6 separate regions of the Homo sapiens genome follow, and all the other regions are linked to region 5. The links are contacts of gene promoters, found by promoter capture Hi-C in blood cells and fetal thymus (Javierre and others, 2016). All regions are on one chromosome and are shown on one strand. The core of a region is centred on a gene start or on the middle of the fragment in contact, and the rest is flanking DNA. Distances in the headings are between cores, read along the strand shown.

The links. Contacts are between HindIII fragments. The CHiCAGO score rates a contact against its expected background, and 5 or more counts as called.
Region 1: a fragment that was not itself captured here is called in contact with the fragment with the promoter of TDRD7 in region 5 in 17 of 17 cell types (naive CD8 T cells, naive CD4 T cells, neutrophils and 14 more); the score reaches 17.0 in naive CD8 T cells.
Region 2: a contact is called between the fragment with the promoter of ZNF510 here and the fragment with the promoter of TDRD7 in region 5, in 1 of 17 cell types (total CD8 T cells). The highest score is 5.4, in total CD8 T cells.
Region 3: a fragment that was not itself captured here is called in contact with the fragment with the promoter of TDRD7 in region 5 in 9 of 17 cell types (total CD4 T cells, total CD8 T cells, naive CD8 T cells and 6 more); the score reaches 8.0 in total CD4 T cells.
Region 4: a fragment that was not itself captured here is called in contact with the fragment with the promoter of TDRD7 in region 5 in 1 of 17 cell types (neutrophils); the score reaches 8.2 in neutrophils.
Region 6: a contact is called between a fragment that was not itself captured here and the fragment with the promoter of TDRD7 in region 5, in 1 of 17 cell types (naive CD8 T cells). The highest score is 5.5, in naive CD8 T cells.

What each region holds. Positions count from the first base shown.
Region 1 is chr9:96,868,294-96,871,624 of GRCh38, reverse strand. It overlaps a transcript of ZNF782 not described here and the pseudogene LOC100132781. Among named protein-coding and RNA genes, the nearest start is that of ZNF782, 15 kb to the right of the region's middle. The HindIII fragment of the contact is 1,738 bases long and covers 731-2,468 here.
Region 2 is chr9:96,776,528-96,780,254 of GRCh38, reverse strand. It overlaps ZNF510 (zinc finger protein 510), which reads left to right and starts at 2,168. Exons shown (of 6, transcript NM_014930.3): 1 at 2,168-2,221. RefSeq lists a silencer at 2,308-2,407. The HindIII fragment of the contact is 7,758 bases long and covers 1-3,727 here.
Region 3 is chr9:96,825,462-96,828,890 of GRCh38, reverse strand. ZNF782 (zinc finger protein 782) reads left to right here. Exons shown (of 6, transcript NM_001001662.3): 5 at 1,710-1,811. Among named protein-coding and RNA genes, the nearest start is that of ZNF782, 27 kb to the left of the region's middle. The HindIII fragment of the contact is 1,412 bases long and covers 573-1,984 here.
Region 4 is chr9:96,426,404-96,430,110 of GRCh38, reverse strand. No RefSeq gene overlaps it. Among named protein-coding and RNA genes, the nearest start is that of ZNF367, 9.9 kb to the right of the region's middle. The HindIII fragment of the contact is 4,183 bases long and covers 237-3,707 here.
Region 5 is chr9:97,409,833-97,413,491 of GRCh38, reverse strand. TDRD7 (tudor domain containing 7) reads right to left here and starts at 1,396. Exons shown (of 17, transcript NM_014290.3): 1 at 1,254-1,396. RefSeq lists enhancers at 550-809, 414-913, 914-1,415 and silencers at 751-1,045, 1,130-1,339, 1,360-1,709. The HindIII fragment of the contact is 7,534 bases long and covers 1-3,659 here.
Region 6 is chr9:96,757,573-96,761,044 of GRCh38, reverse strand. It overlaps ZNF510 (zinc finger protein 510), which reads left to right. Exons shown (of 6, transcript NM_014930.3): 6 at 568-3,472. The coding sequence ends at 2,267. Among named protein-coding and RNA genes, the nearest start is that of ZNF510, 19 kb to the left of the region's middle. The HindIII fragment of the contact is 1,255 bases long and covers 975-2,229 here.

The sequences.
Region 1 (3,331 bases), core at 350-2,849, 540 kb after region 5:
AGGCCTCAAGTGATCCTGCCATTTAAGCCTTATGAGTAGCTGGGACTACAGGCATGCCTAGCTCCTGAATATTAACCTTTAATTTTTTGTTTCAGTCCTTCTTGACGATAGCAGATATTGATGAGACAAAAAGTTAAATGCTTAATATTCAAATTCTGCAAAATGAAGCCAGAGGTGGTGGTACACACCTATAGTCCCAGCTGCTTGGTAGGCTGACATGGGAGGATTGCTTGAGGCCAGGATTTCCAGGCTGTGGTATGCTATGACTGTGCCTCTGAATAATCATTGCACTGTACATTGGGTAACATACTGAGACAACATCTATTTAAAAAAAAAAAGAAGAAATACAATTAAAATTTCAAATTATATTTTGTAAAGGTTTATAGCCTGCATATGTATGCTTCAGTGCTCTGGAGGGCACAAGCATACTATGTTAAAGCTAAAAACTGTCCTGAAACTTTCAGGACACCTCATGTTTTATCATTTTTTATTACCACTGGATCACCATGTTGCTTGGCACTATGAAAACATCTTTTAATACCTTTATTTAAAAAATAAGAAAATTTATCAGCAAATGAGAACCATTATAGTTCACAAGAAATACACCACAGACCCTAATAAAAGTAGATAATCAATAACCAATATTTTCTCTTTTTATGACCCCAAACATGCTAACTGCTAATAAGAAGTGCTTACAGAGGATATGAATGGCAAATGTTATCCAGAAGCTTTTGCTTAAAATGATTGCCAGTAACTAGTAGCTTCGATTCTAAGAGTAGGAAGGAAGAGCCCCTTCAGTACCTGACAATGCTGCATCTGCTCCTAGTGGCTTTATGAGTTGTTAAGAGTCCTATGTTTTAATGGTAATATGATGCTAAATGCATATGCAGCAATATTGGGGGAAAGAAAAATATAAAAGAAACAGAAAAGTTATCTTTAAAATCTAAAAATTTAAACCATTGTTTTAAACCCTTACATAGTTCACTGCTATCAGCTCACATAGGAGCCTTCACTTTGGAGTGGTTTTTATAACTCTCTTTACATTAAAAGGGACAGAAGAGTGTAAGAGTGTGTTGTTGCATTGACAAGGTCCCATTCTTTTCTATGAAGTGCAATCCTAGTTGTCCTTGAGTTAACTTGAATTGTAGGTGTTTCTTCTTTTGAAAGTACTTTTCTAGTTCTTCAGCAGGAAAGGTGATATTTTCCTGTCTTTTTTGATGAGGGGTTCAGATGTTATATAACCCCTCACTTCTTCCTTCAGGAGAGGATGGCCTTAAGGCACTGAAGATCAATTAAATCATCAGAACTCAAAGACCTTTTCCTTTTGTTGGCAGTACCATAGAAGTCTTTGTCTTCCAACCTTGAAACAACCTAAGAAAGACAATCAAATAGAAAAGAGGTACAATTTCAAAAAGGATTCCAACCTGTAACAATCACCATTGATGATAAGCCACACATGCAGACTCCCTTAGATAGTTCAGTAACAGCTATTTTGGCTGAGGTTTACAATGCCAAGTTCTGTCAACTCTCTAAGGTAGTCTCCTTTAAGGGCTATAATTAGATTGCTGGAGCAAAGGGGGAACTTGTTTTATTAAGTTATTTAAAAATTGGGCTCCTAAAGATGTCACAGTATTGTGACAGTCTTCTAACAGCAGTATCATCTGTTACCTGTGCACTTGTTCCTTAAACATAATGAATGCACACTTTTGCAAAAGTTAGTTTATGAATGTATTCAAATTCTACCCAATCTGTAGTAGTTATTATATACTCAAAGCAAATTTTAATGAAGCAGGTATGTGCTGGACTGCATTGGAATGTCAAATAAGTCTAATGACTAAAGCATCAAAAGGTGTTACTTCACTTGGACATTAATTATGGTAGAAAATGTATTATTTCAAAATACTTCCCAGCTACTACCGAAAATGCCTATTTTAAATGTTCATCCATGTCAGTTGTGAGTAATTTTGCTGTGTACTCACCGAAAGTCACAAACCATAAATATTACTTTGCCCCATAAAAGTTATCATTTCCGGTAGAATCCCATGTACTTCCTGCATCCAGTACTTGAGACACACATACCTTATACAGTCTAAGTGCAGGTCTCTTGGCTTAGGCACTAATGCTTTGTCTAACAAACTCATGGGACTCACTGCACTGTGGTATATTACAGTAGAAAATGATATAAATTTGCAAACTAAATGATAACAAATAGTAAAGAATGTTAAGTGCATTATATATGTAGATATTAGGAATACAACTGCAAGAAATCACTTATGTATGATTATTTGAAAGGGTAGCAGTTCAAAAGGAAAACCATTAAGGATGAATTAAACTTGATTAAAATATTCTGAATTATGGTTACAGAAGAGATGATATCTATAACTTTTAAATAATGTGAATCTTTGTATAAACCATAAACTACATGCCAAAAAGGTTAATAAGCTCTTCAGTATGTTAATTTTGAAGCTTTTCATTTTTCTAATCACTTCTTAATATGATCTAGTTGCAGATGTTGGCATTGGTGTTTGACTGAAAGCCCACTTAGTACCTTCATAGCCTTACCTTCAGTTCCCATGCTCTTTCTATGTCAAGAAGACAAAATGGCAAATATAGGCTACTGTCGTGTGCCAAGGCGCAAAGGTCAAAGTAGCATTTGGTATAAACACTGCCAGGAACATCGACATCATTATTAATGAAGTGGGAGAACTGGTTTCCCAACTCAAGCCTGGGGAAGGAGAAACACAACAAAACCAACACAGGACAATGTTAGTCAACTGGGCTATCTTCAAAAACATTATTCTCATGTAAGAAATGTGGTAAAGCCGTCATATGCTCTAGTTTATTAGAACACATAAAAGAACTCACACTGTACAGAACCCTATCGATGAAAGAAACACAAGAAAGCATTCAACTTTCCCAGTTCTCTTTGAAAACTTAGAAAAACTTGTATTGGAAAAAATAATGAATGTAAAAAACGTGTTAATGAACTTGATTTTCCCACATCTTTTCAAAGGCATAGTTGAATTTTAATACGTAGAAAAACTACATAATCTTAAGAAACATAGTCAAGCCTTCAGCTTTTTCATTTCTTTGAAAACATGAAAGGATTCAAGGGAGAAAACCCTTATAAATACAAACATGTGGTAGGGTCGTCAGTTGTTCCAGTTCCACATGAAGACAAGAACTCGTTTCTGAAATAAAACCTATGAATGTATAGAATGCAGAAATGCCTTCATTTACGTGATATTTGCTCCAAGACCTATGATAACACACATTGTAGACTGGCCTTATAAATATAAGAAAGCACACTGGATTGGAACTCCAGTAGACT
Region 2 (3,727 bases), core at 919-3,418, 630 kb after region 5:
GGAAGTCCAGGCTGCAATAAGCCGTGATCGCACCACTTCACTCCAGCCTCGGTGACATAGTGAGACCCGGTCTCAAAAACAAACAAACAAACCAAACCTCACTGCAAATATTTATCAGCTGCGGTGGTGCTGCATCTACACACACAGCGCCGAACTTGGAAGTTGGCGGAGAGCAGCTCTTTGGGCACCAGGCAAGGTCTCAGCCTTCAGACAGATGTGAAGGGCGAGACTTTCCTTGGAAAGGAATTAAAGGGTTTATCTTTTTAAAACACCTGTTTCTCTTAAAAACTTAAGAAATGTATAATTTAAAAATTTAAAACTTTGATATTATTAATTGCTTATTGTTGAATGAATCCTTGTGAAAATTATTGATTGTAATGTTAGTGCCATGGATATGTCCTTTGTCCCAGCACCTATCTCATTGTCCTAACAAGGTTACTGAAGGTTCTCTTTCCACTGCTTTAAAAGCCAGCTGATACATACTACATTCTTTCTTTTTCATATAGTTGAACTTTTACTGCACCAGGATAAATTTTTAAATATTTAGTGATAGTATACATAGTAAATATAGAGATATTGCTATGCATTTTCAATTCTTTTCTGATCATTACCATAAGTTTTTATTAGAATGAAAATTGGAATAGTTCCTTTAGGAAAACAGGCAAAATATATAAATGTCAAAAAAAGAAAATATATACTTAGAAAACATAGATGATTAGAATTTTTAAAAACAAATGTTAGTCTTTTCCTCCAGTATCTATTAAAGTGTTTTTCAGTGTCAACAGTAAAATTTTATACCTTGATTCATATATACTGCACTAGTTTACTGTTGCCATTAATCTTTTTTCTTGCTAATCAAAACTTATCATTGCCATATAAAATAACCTGTTAGAAAGTATCAACCGTGTGTGTGTGAGTGTATGTGTGTTACTAAAAAGAGTGTCATAAAATACTGTGCTGAGAGGTTCCTAATTTGGTTCCTGATTTCAGAAGCATACCACATAAGATTTAAGCAAGCTCATCTCTAGGAGATGCATAATTTGTGGATAACGGTTTTCTTAGTTGGGATTGTGTGTACTTCAGGTATTATGTAATGCTGAACAGCTTACTTGCTTTTTCTTTTTTTCCCCCCAGAGATAAACTGAGGATCACAAATATTATTCTTTTATGTTAATAATGGTTTCCATTTTCTAGTATTTGTTACATTTTACGGCTTTATTCACAAAGCTGTTTATGTATTTTTGTGGCAGCTCTAAGTTAAAAGGCACACTTGTAACATTACAGTCCCAATTTTCCCTTTATCAACTTTATATTATAAAATTTTCCAACACATAGTCAATAAGCATGTCCATATTCTAGAAGTAGATATTCTTAACATTTTGCCATACTTCCCATTTCTAATTATTTTTTAAAAAGAACTTACAAACGGGCCGGGAGTGGTAGCTCACGCCTGTATACCCAGCACTTTGGGAGGCCAAGGCAGGCGGATCACTTGAGGTGAGGAGTTCGAGACCAGCCTGGCCAACATGGTGAAACCCCGTCTCTACTAAAAATACAAAAATTAGCTGGGCGTAGTGGCGGGCGCCTGTAGTCCCAGCTACTTGGGAGGCTGAGGCAGGAGAATCGCTTGAACCCGGGAGGCGGAGGTTGCAGTTAGCCGAGATCGCGCCACTGCACTCCAGCCTGGGCGACAGAGTAAGACTCCGTCTCAAAAAAAAAAAAAAAAACCAAAAAACCCAAAAACTTACAAACATAATACAATCCTAAATACTTACATAGACATCTCTTTATGAATAAGCAAGATTACCTACATAATCCCAATGCTGCCACAATTAATTAATAATTCTAATTTCCAGTCCGTATACAAATTTTCCCAATTGTTTTCAAACGTCTTCCGCGGCTCTTGCTTTCTGTAACCACACGCTGCATTTGCTGTTATGTCATCAAGTCTAACCCACAACCTCTGGGGCTCTGACAGAACCCGGGCTCCAGTTATCAGGACGGTCCATGTTATTACGCCATAAATCTTGGGGGAAAAACAAACAAAAAAACACTGACAGCTGGCGCCGTACTGCATGTGAAACGTAGTCTTGCATGTTATGGGTTACCGCGCAGCATGCTGGGAACGGATATGCGCGTTTTCGTCTGCGCATGTGCAGTCAACCCCACTTTCCGGCTTCTCCCTGTTAGTGTTTGCTGGTGCAGAGGGTTCGCAGCTCAGGTGAGAGCGCCGGGCCTCCACGCGGATTGCGGACCTGCAGGGAGGGATGTGCTAGTGTCCAGGGGGCGGGAACGCGACGTCCCGGGAACTCCCCCAAAGCAGGCCGTCGCTCCCTGTGCCTCGGCCGGCCCGGGACCTCAGCCTGAGAAGGGCCGGTGGGGGCGGGCTCCGGGGGCGTTAGGTGGGGCTGAGTCCTAGTTGGAAGATGCTCGGTGCGGGCCGAGGTATGGGCGCCAGAATGCAGCCAGGCGTCGGAAAACGCGGTGCTGGCTTCAGGAGGGGAATGCGCGTTTATTGTATTGACCATGAACCTGCCACAAAGCGCGTACAGCCCGTGGGTCTGCGGTGAGAGGCCGAGCCTAGGAGCTAGAAGGACCTCGTGAATTTTGGCTCTGTCACTTGAGCGTTTGAAAATGAGGATATTAGTAAAAACTGCTTTGTGTCGTTCAGAGGTAAGCCATCCCCTGTAAAGCATTTAGCTAAGCGCTAGTTACTAAGCAGCATGTAAATGTTGATTCCCGTTATATTTGGAAGACACTTTGTTCTTTTCATGTAGTATTTCGTTTAATTCTCACAACCACCCTATTTATATCATTAAAAATGAAGAAGGAGGAGTGAAAAGATAGAGCCAAGCTCACAAAGGATGAGAGAGCTAGGATGTCAATACATAAACACTTTACTCCCCGAATCAGGCTGTTTGTAATGGCCTACCTACCTAACCCAGCATTGCAGCCTTCACAGCACTGAGTGATTGTCCCCAAAACCCCAGGACAATGATTGTGAAGTCAGTGTGGACAGAATCTTACTATGTGGCAAGTGTATTTGTTGTGGGGTTTCTGGGATGTCTCCAGAGCCTCTGGGTTAGACTGAGGCCCCTGCCACCTCCTGTGCTGTCCCTCCTGTCTCTGTCTTTAGAAGTCAGTCTGATATTCTAGGGCAGTGAAGATGAGTCACATACGTAATTTTAAATGTTAAACTAGTAGCTACATGAAAATCTAAAACATGAAATTAATTTTAAGAACATACTGTGGTTTTCTCAGTGTATCCAAAATGTTATTTCAACATGTGGTCCTAGCCACATTTCCAGTGCTCAGTAGTTGATGTGATTGGAGGCTGTAGTCATGGATAGCAGGGTTCTAATTAATGCCAAGAGAATCAGGTTTAAGGCCTTAGGTCACTTCTTCACCAGGAGGATTTTGCTCCCTAGGGAACTTTGGAAATGTTGGAGACTTTTTTGGTGGGGGGAGAGGGGACTGAGTTTCTCTCTGTCGCCCAGGCTGGAGGGCAGTGGTGTGATCTTGGCTCACTGCAACCTCCACCTCCCAGGTTCAACTGATTCTCCTGCCCCAGCCTCCCAGCTTGTAATCTCAGCTGGAATTACAAGCATGCATGGCCATGCCCAGCTAATTTTTTGTATTTTTAGTAGAGGTGGGGTTTCACCATATTGGCCAGGCTTATCTTGAACTCCTGACCTCAGGTGATCCACCTGCCTTGGCCTCCCACAGT
Region 3 (3,429 bases), core at 29-2,528, 580 kb after region 5:
AGCAATTTGATTATAATGTACATTGGTGTGATTTTATGTTTCCTCTTGGCATTTATTTAGCTTCTTGGATCTGAGGGTTTATATAGGTCATTAAAATTAGGAAATTTTGGCCACTGTTGCATCAGAATTTTCTCTCCCTTTCCTTTTTTTCTTCTGGAATGCTGATTACATATATGTTAGACTACAAATTTATTTAACCACAGGTCACAGATAACTCTGTTTATTATTTTCCAGTCTCTCTATGTGTTGCCCAGGCTGGTCTTGAACTCCCAGCTTCAGGCAGTCCTCCTGCCCCACCCTCCCAAAAAACTGGGATTACAGGTGTCACTGTGCCTGGCCATATGGGCCATTTCTTATTTGGTTGTTACTGATTGATTTTTCTCCTTGATAAGAGTCTTGTATCACTGCTTCTGTTCATACCTAGTAATTTTGTGTTGGGTGCTAGATATTGTGAATTTTACATTGTGAGTTGCTAGATTTTGTTGTATTCTTTTACATATTTCTGAGCCTTTTCTGGGATGTAGTTAAGTTACTTGGAATTAGTTCGATCATTTCAAGGTACACTTTAAGCTTTGTTGTGTTGGATTCAGAGCTCACTTTAGAACTAATTTGGCCCCTCTACTAAAGCAGTACCGTTCTGGTTATTCTACCCTGTTGGTCATTAATTAGGAGGTTTTCTACCCTGGTTGGTGATGATATAAACTTCCTGCCTTTGTGTATGCTGTAGTGATTTTTCAGCCTATTCTTTTTCACTGGTCTTTTCCTAACCTTGAGTGATTCTCTTATATGCTTATACAGGTCAGTACTCAGGAGACCCTTCTGCAGATCTCCAACATTTTATATCAGTATAGCTCTTTCTTCGCTGGCATTTACTCCCACAAATTCTAGTTGCCAGGGCTTCCTTAAACATCCAATTTTGTCACATCAGCTTGCCAAGTCTGCCAGGCTCTGTTTTGGTATTCTTTTTCCGCTCTGGTTTGGCAACTCTCTCACAAGTAGCCTGTGATAATCATAGGGCTCACCTCATTGTTTCTCTACTTTCAAGGATCCCTGTCTGCACTGCCTCTTGGCTAAAACCTAATTACCATTTTTTATATTTTGTTTGGTTTTTTAGTTGTCTGTTATGGAAATCAGTTCCTTTTACCCTGTTACAGCCAGATATGGAAGTCCTTATGAAATCTCTTCCTCAATAACCAAGACATTGGCCATTTTAGAATTTTATGTTACTTAGGTGTGCAGTTCAGGGGTTCAAGGAGATTGATCATTTATGAGAATAAGAAAATGTTTTTTGGCCAGGTACAGTGGCTTATGCCACCGTACTTTGGGAGGCCAGGGTGAGACGATTGCTTGAGGCCAGGAATTCGACTCTATCTTTACAAAAAAACTTTAAAAAATTAGCCGGGTATGGTGGTGCACACCTGTAGTCCCAGCTACTCAGGAGGCTGAGGCAGAAGGATTACCTGAGCCCAGGAGTTTGAGGCTGCAGTGAGCCATGGTGGCACCACTGCACTTCAGCCTGAGTGACATAGGGACCCTGTCTCTAAAAAAAAAAGTAAGAAAAGAAAGAAAATGTTTTTTGTGGTTACTTCCCCAAGGAAGGTCCAGTGAGCACCCTGAATATGCCCCTTCTGAAGCTGTACCTTCTTCACATTCAGAAACAGTAGAACCTATGCAACTAATGCAAATGCTAAATTGTTTCCCATTTATAGGCTACTGCTTTACAAAACCAGAACTGATCTTCACATTGGAACAAGGAGAAGATCCATGGTTATTAGAGAAAGAGAAAGGATTTCTAAGCAGGAACTCCCCAGGTGAGTTACTGAATTCAACAAGAAGAAGGTTCTCTGATTCACTAGGAGTACTCACACAACTCAGCGTATAGTCATAATAATGGTTAAAATTTATACACTGAAAAAATACAAACAAAAATCAGCAGAGATAAAAGGTGCATGGGGCAAAGTTCGTAGGAAACAAGCTACAAGCTTCTGAGAGTTCAGATAGTTCCCCAAGCACAGTTTCCTAAACAATGAATTTTGAAAACATATGTAAAATGTTGTCTACCCAGAACTGGTGCCCAGGGTTTTTATTGTGGGCTAATCATGTAGACACCCTCTGTCTAGCATCTGCCAAAATTACAGACTGTGAGATGGAAAACTGGTGTTCCCTATCATATTGTTTGTGCAGGGCTGGCACGGTGAGCCCCTCGGCAGTTATGAGAATCTTGTTTCTAGATGCCAGCCAAGGGCAAACCTTACAAGAAAGCCTTTCTAAGAGTAGCAGTCTCAGGCCTGCTGAATCAACTCTTTTATTTATTTATTTATTTACTTATTTATTTTATTATTATTATACTTTAAGTTTTAGGGTACATGTGCACAATGTGCAGGTTAGTACATATGTATACATGTGCCATGCTGGTGCGCTGCACCCACTAACTCATCATCTAGCATTAGGTATATCTCCCAAAGCTATCCCTTCCCCCTCCCCCAACCCCACAACAGTCCCCAGAGTGTGATGTTCCCCTTCCTGTGTCCATGTGTTCTCATTGTTCAATTCCCACCTATGAGTGAGAATATGCGGTGTTTGGTTTTTTGTTCTTGCGATAGTTTACTGAGAATGATGATTTCCAATTTCATCCATGTCCCTACAAAGGACATGAACTCATCATTTTTAATGGCTGCATAGTATTCCATGGTGTATATGTGCCACATTTTCTTAATCCAGTCTATCATTGTTGGACATTTGGGTTGGTTCCAAGTCTTTGCTATTGTGAATAATGCCACAATAAACATACATGTGCATGTGTCTTTATAACAGCATGATTTATAGTCCTTTGGGTATATACCCAGTAATGGGATGGCTGGCTCAAATGGTATTTCTAGTTCTAGATCCCTGAGGAATTGCCACACTGACTTCCACAATGGTTGAACTAGTTTACAGTCCCACCAACAGTGTAAAAGTGTTCCTATTTCTCCACATCCTCTCCAGCACCTGTTGTTTCCTGACTTTTTAATGATTGCCATTCTAACTGGTGTGAGATGGTATCTCATTGTGGTTTTGATTTGCATTTCTCTGATGGCCAGTGATGGTGAGCATTTTTTCATGTGTCTTTTGGCTGCATAAATGTCTTCTTTTGAGAAGTGTCTGTTCATGTCCTTTGCCCACTTTTTGATGGGGTTGTTTTTTTCTTGTAAATTTGAGTTCTTTGTAGATTCTGGATATTAGCCCTTTGTCAGATGAGTAGGTTGCGAAAATTTTCTCCCATTTTGTAGGTTGTCTGTTCACTCTGATGGTAGTTTCTTTTGCTGTGCAGAAGCTCTTTAGTTTAATTAGATCCCATTTGTCAATTTTGGCTTTTGTTGCCATTGCTTTTGGTGTTTTAGACATGAAATCCTTGCCCATGCCTATGTCCTGAATGGTAATGCCTAGGTT
Region 4 (3,707 bases), core at 1,079-3,578, 980 kb after region 5:
AATTAACTAGTGTGCCAAGGTCATTGCTGATGAAAATCTGACAGCAGAACAAGTCTATAATGCTGATGAAACATTATTGTTTTGCTGTTATTACCCCAGAAATACATTGACTACAGCTGGTGAGACAGCCCCTACAGGAATTAGGGATGCCAAGGACAGAATAACTATGTTGCAATGTGCTCATGCAGCAGGCACACATAAATGTAAACTTACTGTGACAGGCAGGTGAAAAAGCTTGCTGTTTTCAAGGAGTGAATTTTTTACCAGTCCATTGTTCTGCTAACAAAAAGGCAGGGATCATCAGGGACAGCTTTTCTAATTGTTTTCACAAACATTTTGTACTAGTGGCATGTGCTCACTGCAAAGAAACTAAACTGAATGAGGACTGTAAGATTTTGTTATTCCTTGATACCGATTTTGCTCATTCCCCAGCTGAAATTTTCATCAAAAATGTTTGTGTCGGCTGGGTGCGGTGGCTCACGCCTGTAATCCCAGCACTTTGGGAGGCCAAGGCAGGTGGATCGCCTGAGGTCAGGAGTTCGAGACCAGCCTGGCCAACATGGTGAAACCCCATCTCTACTAAAAATACAAAAAAATTAGCTGGGCGTGGTGGCACATGCCTGTAGTCTCAGCTACCTGGGAGGCTGAGGCAGGAGAATCGCTTGAACCCAGGAGGTGGAGGTTGCAGTGAGCCGAGATCGCTCCACTGCACTCCGGCTTGGGCGACAGAGCATGACTCCGTCTCAAAAAAAAAAAAATATATATATATATATATGTGTGTGTGTGTGTGTATATATATACACATATATACATATATACATACATATATACATATATACATACATATATACACATATATACATACATATACATATATACACACATATACATACATATACATATATACATATATACACACACATACATATATACATATATACATATATACACATATATACATATATACATATATACACATATATACACACATATACATACATATACATATATACGTATATACACATATATACATATATACATATATACGTATATATACATATATACATATATACGTATATATACATATATACATATATACGTATATATACATATATACATATATATACATATATACATATATATACATATATACATATATACATATATACGTATATGCATATATATACATATATACATATATATACATATATATACATATATACACATATATACACAATATACATACATATACATATATACACATATACATATATATACATATATACACATATACATATGTACATATATACATATATACATATGTACATATATACATATATACATATATACATATATATACATATATATATGTAGTCTGTGTCAGAGCTGGAAGAAGTGGATATTCAAGACGTTTTTAATGAGCCTTGTTCCTTCACTAACTGAGGGTGAAATATCTGAGTTGGTTCTGAACCAAGGTGATCGTGATAACAGTGACAGTGAAGATGATGATGTTAACACTATAGAAAAAGCACCTATAGAGGACCTGGTGAAAATGTATGATGGGCTTATTGAAAACTAGGGCAGTGTGCATTCACAACCAAACAAGAAATCATGTCAATTCATAAAAATCAAGAGAGACGTCTAAGACAGAAACTGGCCGGGGTGATGGCTCATGCCTGCAATCCCAGCACTTTGGGAAGCCGAGGCGGGTGGATCACCTGAGGCTGGGAGTTCGAGACCAGTCTGACCAACATGGTGAGACCCCGTCTCTACTAAAAATACAAAATTAGACAGGCGTGGTGGCACATGCCTGTAATCCTAGCTACTCAGGAGGCTGAGGCAGGAGAATTGCTTGAACCTGGGAGGTGGAGGTTGCAGTGAGCCAAGATCGCGCCATTGCACTCCAGCCAGGGCAACAAGAGTGAAATTCCATTTCAAAAAAAAAAAAAAAAGACAGAAACTGTTGTTAATGAGGCAGATGATGCTGAATGAAACATTTTCAAAAGCCATCCAGCAGATGCCTCCTCACCCCTATGGGACCCACTTCCTGATCCTTTAACTGCTACTGATGTTTTTTTTTTTCACTGAAAAAAAGAAGATACAGTGTACAGCCTTTCAATCAAAAGGTAGTATCATAGGTAGAGACCAGAAGCTGCTGTTGTTTAGCCACTGATGCAGGTATCTGGTGATGCTATCTTGGGTGCCCTGAACACATTATTTTTTCACTGCATTAATGAAATGTCATATTTTTTACTGGTAAGTACGTATGTGTGAGTTTAAGAAAATGATTGGTTATTGGTATCATATAAATGCAGAGTCAGGAAGCATGGGGATGTCCACATTGGTGGCTGAGATAGTGACATCTTCGCCTCTGATGGTTCAACATACACACACCTTTATTTTTATTTAAAACGTTGTATACAATTACCTTCAGGCTACGTGTATAAGGTGCACATGAAATGTAAATTAACTTCATGTTTAGATTTAAGCCTCATCCCCAAGATATCTCATTATGTATATGCAAAAATTCCATAATCCAAAAAAATCTGAAATCCCAAACACTTCTGGTCCCAAGCTACCTGGGAGGCTGAGGCAGGAGAATCGCTTGAACCTGGGAGGTGGAGCTTGCAGTGAGCCGAGATTGCGCCAGTGCACTCCAGCCTGGGCGACAGAGCAAGACTCTGTCTCGAAAAAACAAAAAACAGAAATCAAACAAACAAACAAAAACCCAGGCAAACAGACTGGTAGAACAGAATGTAAAGTTAGACCCAAATACATATGGAAACTTAGTATATGAAAAAGGTGGCATTTCAGATCACAAGGATAAAGATAAATTTTTAAATAAAGTCATGTGATAAAAATTTCATGAATGAAGTCAAAAGACAACTGATGACAGCTTGGGAGAAAATATTCACAACATATACTACAGACAAAAGGGCAATGTTCTCATATATATAGAATTCTTAAAAAAAATTAAGAGACAGCTTGGCACGGTGGATCACGCCTATAATCCCAGCAGTTTGGTAGGCTGAGGTGGGTGGATTGCTTGAGCTGAGGAGTTTGAGGCCAGCCTGAGCAACAAGGCGAGACCATGTCTGTATCAAAAAAGATGCAAAACTTAGCTGGGCATAGTGTTGTGCACTTGTAGTCCCAGCTATTTGGGAGGCGAAGGTGGGAGGATTGCTTATGCCCGGGAGGTTGAGGCTGCAGTGAGCCATGATTACACCACTGCACTCCAGCCTGGGTAACAGAGTGAGTGCAGCTGCTTTGGAAAAGTTAAGTCGGATCCCCAAAATGTTAAACCCACGGCTGCTCTATGACCCAGCAATTCCACACCTAGGTATAACCAAAAATAAAAATAAAAACATATATCGACATAAAAACAGACACACGAATGTTCACAGCACCACTGTTCATAATAGGCAAAAAGTGGGAGCCACTTAAATATCCATCAAGTGATGAATAGATAAGCAAAATATAGTATAGCTATACAATGAAATATTATTTCTCCGTAGAATGGAGAAAGGATTCTCCATTGGCGCCCAGCCAATTTCGTAATTCTGACCAATTCGGAATTATGAAAAACAAGGGGCTGGGTGTGGTGGCTCACGCCTGTAATCCCAGCACTTTGGGAGGCTGAGGCGGGCGGGTCACGAGGTCAGGAGTTCGAGACCAGCCTGGCCAATATAGTGAAACCCCATCTCTAC
Region 5 (3,659 bases), core at 147-2,646:
AGAGAGTGAATACTGCTTGGCAATTATTATGAGGCAAAGGATATACAGTGGTTATCTTGGAAAAGCCTTGCAAAGTAAGCCAGGTACCTCTATTTGACACATAGAAAACCAGGCTAAGAGAAAGCATGTAATTTGTTCAAGATCACACAATTTGTAAAATGAGAAGCCCAGATTTCAATCCAGGTCTGCAAAGTTCACATTATTTGCAGTATGCAACACATTCATACACATCAAGGCAGCCCAGGACGAGACAGGGATTTGGGTCCAAGTTTTACTTCTGCTATTAAGCTGTTGCCTATCTCTCTAGAGAGAACATTTCTCTGCATTTTTTTCACCGGCACGATTGGAGAGCAGAGAGGTGTTGGTAGGAGGGTTAATGAACTAGATCTGTGGTTTTTTGGTTTGGTTTGGTTTGGATGGGCGGTGATCAGAATTCTTCTGGGCCAGGACTTGTTCTAATGTGGTTGTTTCCCTTCCCTGCTCTTAGAAATTATTTGAGAATGGTACCTTTAGCTATTAATGGAAATATACCTCTCAAGTGAATGGGAGCAGAAAGATATGCCGGCTCCAAGCTCCCTCCTAGCAAGCTGAAGCTGAGAGTCTGACCCTGCTGAGGGGATGCTACTGAAAGTTGAGAGACAACTTACTCACGGATCCATGTTTCCCTCCCAGCTGGGTGCTCTGTACCCACTGGGTGCTCCTCGTTTGAGAGAAATGGGGATGTGTGTCCTGCATTACTTAAGCGGCCTGCCTGGGGCTCGTCTCCAGATTATAGAGACCTTCAAGAGAAGTTCGTGGTGTAAAATACTTGGGTTCAAATAGGGGAGCGCGGACATCCCTCGCTGGGGGCGGCGGCTGCGGCCTGTCGCGCCGGTAGCGGGAACCACTTCCTGGTCCGCATCTCCCGCCCGCGTCCACACCCCGCTGCTGCATTTCCCCCACGGCGCAGAGCTTCCGAGGCGGCAGGAGGCTCCGTCCGACTCCCGCGTGAACGCCCGGCCCGGAGCAGGGTCCCTTCAGAGATTTAAAACACAACGCTCTGGAACTCCAACTCCCCCGGCGCCCAGCCCGGTTCCCAGGCGTCGGGGCGGGGGCAATCCCCTGCGGCTGCAGGGAAAAGGCCCCGAGCCTGTTGGAGCCCCCGGCCCTGGCCGCGGTCCCACCGGTGACCCAGGTGCGCCGCGCCCGCCCGAAATCTCGTCCGACGTCGCCCGGCACCTGTCGCGCCCGGAGCCCGCAGGACCTGCACTCACCTCGTTCCGGGGGCCCACGGCCCGTCCCCGCGTCTCTGGGCCCAGCTCCTGCCGCCGTCTCCGCCAGGGGCCCCGCCGCGGCCGCCGCCCACTTTCGGTTTCCCCGCACCACCGGAGCCGCCCCGCGGCTTGGGAATCACCTCAAGCCCCCGCCCCGCCCTGCTCGGCCCCGCCCCGCTTCGCCCCGCCCCGCTTCGAGGGCAGCCTGGCCTCGGCTCTGCGCACGCGCGGGCGCTCCGGCCGCGTCGGCCCACGCCGGCGTCCGCGCGTGGGAAGGGAAACCGTCGCCACCTAGCGGTTTCTGCGCGTGCCCACGCACCGGCCGGCGGCGGAAGACGCCTGCGGGGCGGGTGCGGGAGCGCCTCCTGGTGGACAACGCAGGTACGCGCGGGCCGAGCGAGCCGGGACTCAGCAGGGGGCGAGGGTGGCTCCTTCTATGGGGCTCACCCTCCTTCCAAACAGTTCAACTCCTGCACATTATTTTCTTCAACATCTGGAGCAGTTACTTTTTATTGCCCTAGACACACACTCTGTCCGCCCATATCCTTCAGGCCTTTCTCAAGCATTACCCTTTCAATGACGGTGGACACAGTCTCTAACATGTCAACCTCCTTCCTTGACTTTCCCTATCCCCATTCTCAACCTTATTTCTCCTTAGCACCTATCTAGCACACTATATGTATTTTACTTATGCTTTTATTGTCTGCTATCCTTCTAAAATTAAAGCTCTGTGAGCACAAGGATTTTTGTTTGGTTCCTTAACCTATTCCCAGAGCCTAGGATAGTGCCTAGCACACGATCAGCAATAAATATCTGTCAAATTTATTCATTCACTCTAAAGTTATTGAACACCTAATAAGTGAATACTTATTTATTCTGCACATTAATTCCACCAACACTTATTGGCACCTGCTTTGCATCCCTGCAGCCAACATTGAACACTTCTCTGCACCATTGGATATGCATTTACTGAGAACCTGCTGCTTATTCAACCGGTATTTTATTACAGCTTGACTGCCATGTATAAGACATACAATAAACTGAACGTTTAAAATGTACAGCTTGATAAATTATGCATTTACTGAGAACCTGCTGCTTATTCAACCGGTATTTTATTACAGCTTGACTGCCATGTATAAGACATACAATAAACTGAACGTTTAAAATGTACAGCTTGATAAATTATGCATTTACTGAGAACCTGCTGCTTATTCAACCGGTATTTTATTACAGCTTGACTGCCATGTATAAGACATACAATAAACTGAATGTTTAAAATGTACAGTTTGATAAGTTTTGATATATATATATCACTGTGAGACCATCACTGCAATCAAAATCATGAACATATCCATCACCCAAAAAAGTTTTACTGTGATCCTTTGTAATTCTTATATCTTGTCCCTCCCTGTCACTTGCCCCCTCAACTGCTCACCTGCTTTCTGTTGCTATAGATTATTTTGCTTTTTCTAGAGTTATATGTAAAACTTTTATGTATGGAATCGTATGTACTATCCTTTGGGGGGCTGCCTGGCTTCTTTTATTTAGCAAATTATGTTCATCCATGTTGTTACATGTATCAATAGTTCATGTCTTTCTATTGCTGAATGGTATTGTAGGGATGTACCAAACCTACCACGCAACCCAGCAATTCTGCTCCTGGGTATTTACCCAGGAGAAATGAAAGCAGATGTCCACACAAAAACCTGTACAAGAGTGCTCATGGCAGTTGTGTTGGCCGTAGCCCCACATGGAAAGAATACAAACATCCGTCAGAAGGTGAATGGACAATCAACTAATATATATTGAACACCTGCTGTTAAATAACAAATTTTCATGGATAAGCCTGTGCTTATAGAGCTTTTGATTCAGTGAAAAGATGCAGTAGGCAATACAAAGAAAAATTGGAAGTAAATCTGGAAAACCTGATATCCAGCTCTCAGACACTTGGATGTTTCCCCAAAGGCGGTAGGGAATTGTTCAGAGTTTTTGAACAGGGCTTTTCTTTGAACACTGTTCTCTTTCATATCCTAGATCTGGTCCCTGACTAAGTTTGCCTAAATGTCTCTCTCTGGAATTTCTCTGCATCTCCTTTGCTCTATTTCAGTCTATTTCAGATGTCTTTCTGTTCTTTCCCTTCCAGTCTACTCCAAACATTGCAGTGGATTTTTAATAGACTTTGCTATGGTCTGAATGTTTGTGTCCCTACAAAATTCATGTTGAAACCTAATCCCCATTCTTGCGGTGTTGAGAGGTGGGACCTTTGAGAAGTCATGATGGCTTCGTCCTTGTGAATAGAATTAGTGCCCTTAGGGGCTTAAGGGAGCCTTCTGCCCCTTCCACTGTGTAAGGATTCAGCAAGAAGGTGCCATCTTTGAAGAGGAGAGCAAGTCCTCACAGGATGCC
Region 6 (3,472 bases), core at 353-2,852, 650 kb after region 5:
GAGTTGGTGCTGTTATAAATTTAATTTGATGTTGAATTGATGAGGGATATCAAATTGTAAGAATGTAGACAATAGACTATTCTAACCATTATAATCTAGATAATGTCAAGACCTAGACTGTAATTTACTTTCAGCTTCTAAACCCCCTCCCTGTTGAGTCTATTCCAAAATTCCTGTTATCTCCTGATTTTCCTTGTTATACTACTTACATTTAGAGTTTTTGTTGTATTTATCCCATTCTCTGTTTTTCCTGCTCCCTAAAATAACTACCCCTATAAAACGCTTAGTTTTATTTTATTTTCTTTCCTCTATCTATCCAGTTAGGAAAATCTTACTAATCACATGCAAAATATGTATTCATTACCAGCTTCCTCTCCCATTTGCACTATATCAATATTATTTTTTAAAGGAGGGTGGTCTGAGATATATATATTTACACACACATACATCTGAATTATTTAATCTTGATAAATCAAATAATTAGGTGCAACATAGGCTGTATGTTGATAAAGCTCTACCCACAGAAGATGTAAGAGTCATAAGATGTTTTCAATATTTCTGTTTTAGAAGATTACAGAGGTGATGACCTGATCAAGCAGAACAAGAAAATCAAAGACAAACACTTGGAGCAAGCAATATGTATCAATAATAAAACATTGACTACAGAGGAAGAGAAAGTTTTGGGGAAACCATTTACTCTGCATGTAGCTGCTGTTGCTTCAACAAAAATGTCCTGCAAATGCAACTCATGGGAAGTGAATTTGCAAAGTATTTCTGAATTTATCATTAATAATAGAAACTATTCAACAAAGAAAATAGGTTGCGGTAATGTATGTGAGAATTCACCTTTCAAAATTAACTTTGAGAAAACTCAGACTGGAGAGAAATTTTATGAACATAATAAAAACATGAAAGCTCTCAATTATAATGAAAATCTTCCCAAGCATCCAAAGTTTCAAACTTTGGAGCAAGCTTTTGAATGTAATAAAATTGGAAAAGCCTTTAATGATAAGGCTAACTGTGTTAAACATAACAGTTCTCACACAGGAGAAACATCCTCTAAAGATGATGAATTTAGGAAAAATTGTGATAAGAAAACTCTCTTTGACCACAGGAGAACTGGCACAGGGAAGAAACACCTGCATCTTAATCAATGTGGGAAATCCTTTGAGAAGTCAACTGTGGAGGAATATAATAAACTTAATATGGGTATAAAACATTATGAATTAAATCCAAGTGGAAATAATTTCAACAGAAAGGCACACCTCACTGATCCTCAAACAGCTGTCATAGAAGAGAACCCATTGGTAAGTAATGACAGAACACAGACTTGGGTTAAATCCTCTGAATATCATGAAAATAAGAAATCCTACCAGACGTCGGTTCACAGAGTTCGCCGAAGAAGTCACTCAATGATGAAACCCTATAAATGTAATGAATGTGGGAAATCCTTCTGTCAGAAAGGACATCTCATTCAACATCAGAGAACTCACACAGGAGAGAAACCATTTGAATGTAGTGAATGTGGAAAAACTTTCTCCCAGAAGTCACACCTCAGTACTCATCAGAGAATTCATACAGCAGAAAAACCCTATAAATGTAATGAATGTGGAAAAACATTTGTCCAGAAGTCAACCCTCAGGGGACATCAAAGAATTCACACAGGAGAAAAACCCTATGAATGTAGTGAATGTGGGAAAACTTTTGTTCAGAAGTCCACCCTCAGAGATCATCACAGAATTCACACAGGGGAGAAATCCTTTCAATGCAATCAATGTGGAAAAACATTTGGCCAGAAGTCAAACCTCAGAATACATCAGAGAACTCACACTGGGGAGAAAACTTACCAGTGTAATGAATGTGAAAAATCCTTCTGGCGAAAAGATCATCTCATTCAACATCAGAAAACTCACACGGGAGAGAAACCATTCAAATGTAACGAATGTGGGAAAACTTTTGCCCGGACATCAACCCTCAGAGTGCATCAAAGAATTCACACTGGGGAGAAACCATTTAAATGTAATGAATGTGGGAAGAAATTTGTCCGGAAAGCAATCCTTAGTGATCATCAGAGAATTCACACAGGGGAGAAACCCTTTCAGTGTAATAAATGTGGGAAAACTTTTGGCCAGAAATCAAACCTCAGAATACATCAAAGGACTCACAGTGGGGAGAAATCTTATGAATGCAATGAATATGGGAAATTATGTAAGAAGTCTACCCTAAGCTTATACCAGAAAATTCAGGGAGAGGGGAATCCCTATTGATGTAATAACTAGAAAATCCTTTTGACAAAAGGAATACCCCATTTGATATCAGAGATACACAAAAAACCAATTGAGGGTAGTGAATGTAAGAAGACAGTCCCAGAAGTAAACCCTCACTGTGAATCAGAGAATTCACATAGGAAAGAAACCAGATGAAGATGAATGCAGGAAGAATTGTGTCCAAAATGCAACCTTCAGAGTGTATCAAAGAATTCAGACAGGCTTCTGTTTTCAGAGTACTATGGATAGGCCTGAATGAAGTCATACCCTATTAGATAGCTCCCACACATCACACAGGCTGGTAATCTCTTCACCAGCACCAATTTCATTTTACTCCAGGCACATAGTCCAGATTTCCCAATCTCCTTTTCATCCAGGTTGGTCTTTGTGACTGGCTACTAAGATGTGGATGTCCATGATGTATATCACATCCCAGTCTGAAACATAAGAGACTTCCCTAATAAATTACCAGGGCCCTGTCACAACAAAATGGATATCATTTCTAGGACAAGCTTGGTGCCGTGCTTTAATGTGGCATGGTACAAGATAAAGAAGTCTGTGCCTGAATGAATACACGCAGCAAAATTCTCCTCTTCTGTGTCTTTCCCAGTTGAACATTATGTGAGCAAAATTTAAGCTTATACAGTAGTCCCCCCTTATCTGTATTTTCACTTTACGCAATTTCCATTAACCATGGTCAACTGTACTTTAAAGTTATTAAATGGATCCAGAAATAAACAATTCCTACATTTTAAACTGCACCCGATTCTGAGTAGTGGGATGAAGTCTCATGCCCTCCTGCTCTCCCATGAGGGTTATTGAATCATTCCTTAGTCTAGCATATCCACAGTGTATACACTATCTGCCAGTTAGTCACTTACTTGACATTTTAGTTATCAGATCACCTGTCAGGGTATGACAGTGCTTGTATTCAAGTAACCCTTGTTTTACTAAATAATGGCCTGAAATTGCAAGAGCATTTCTGGCATGTTGTTGTAATTATTCCATTATTAGTCCTTAATTTATAAATTAGGCACAGCAAGAGATTAAACTATCATAGGCATGTGTATATGTAGGAAAAAAATATAGTATATACAGGGTTCAGTATACCCGTGGTTTCAAACATCAACTTGGAATTCTTGGAGAGCATTCCTTGTAGTTAAGCAGGGACTACTGTATTCTGTTGAGCTTTCACATGTTTGAGT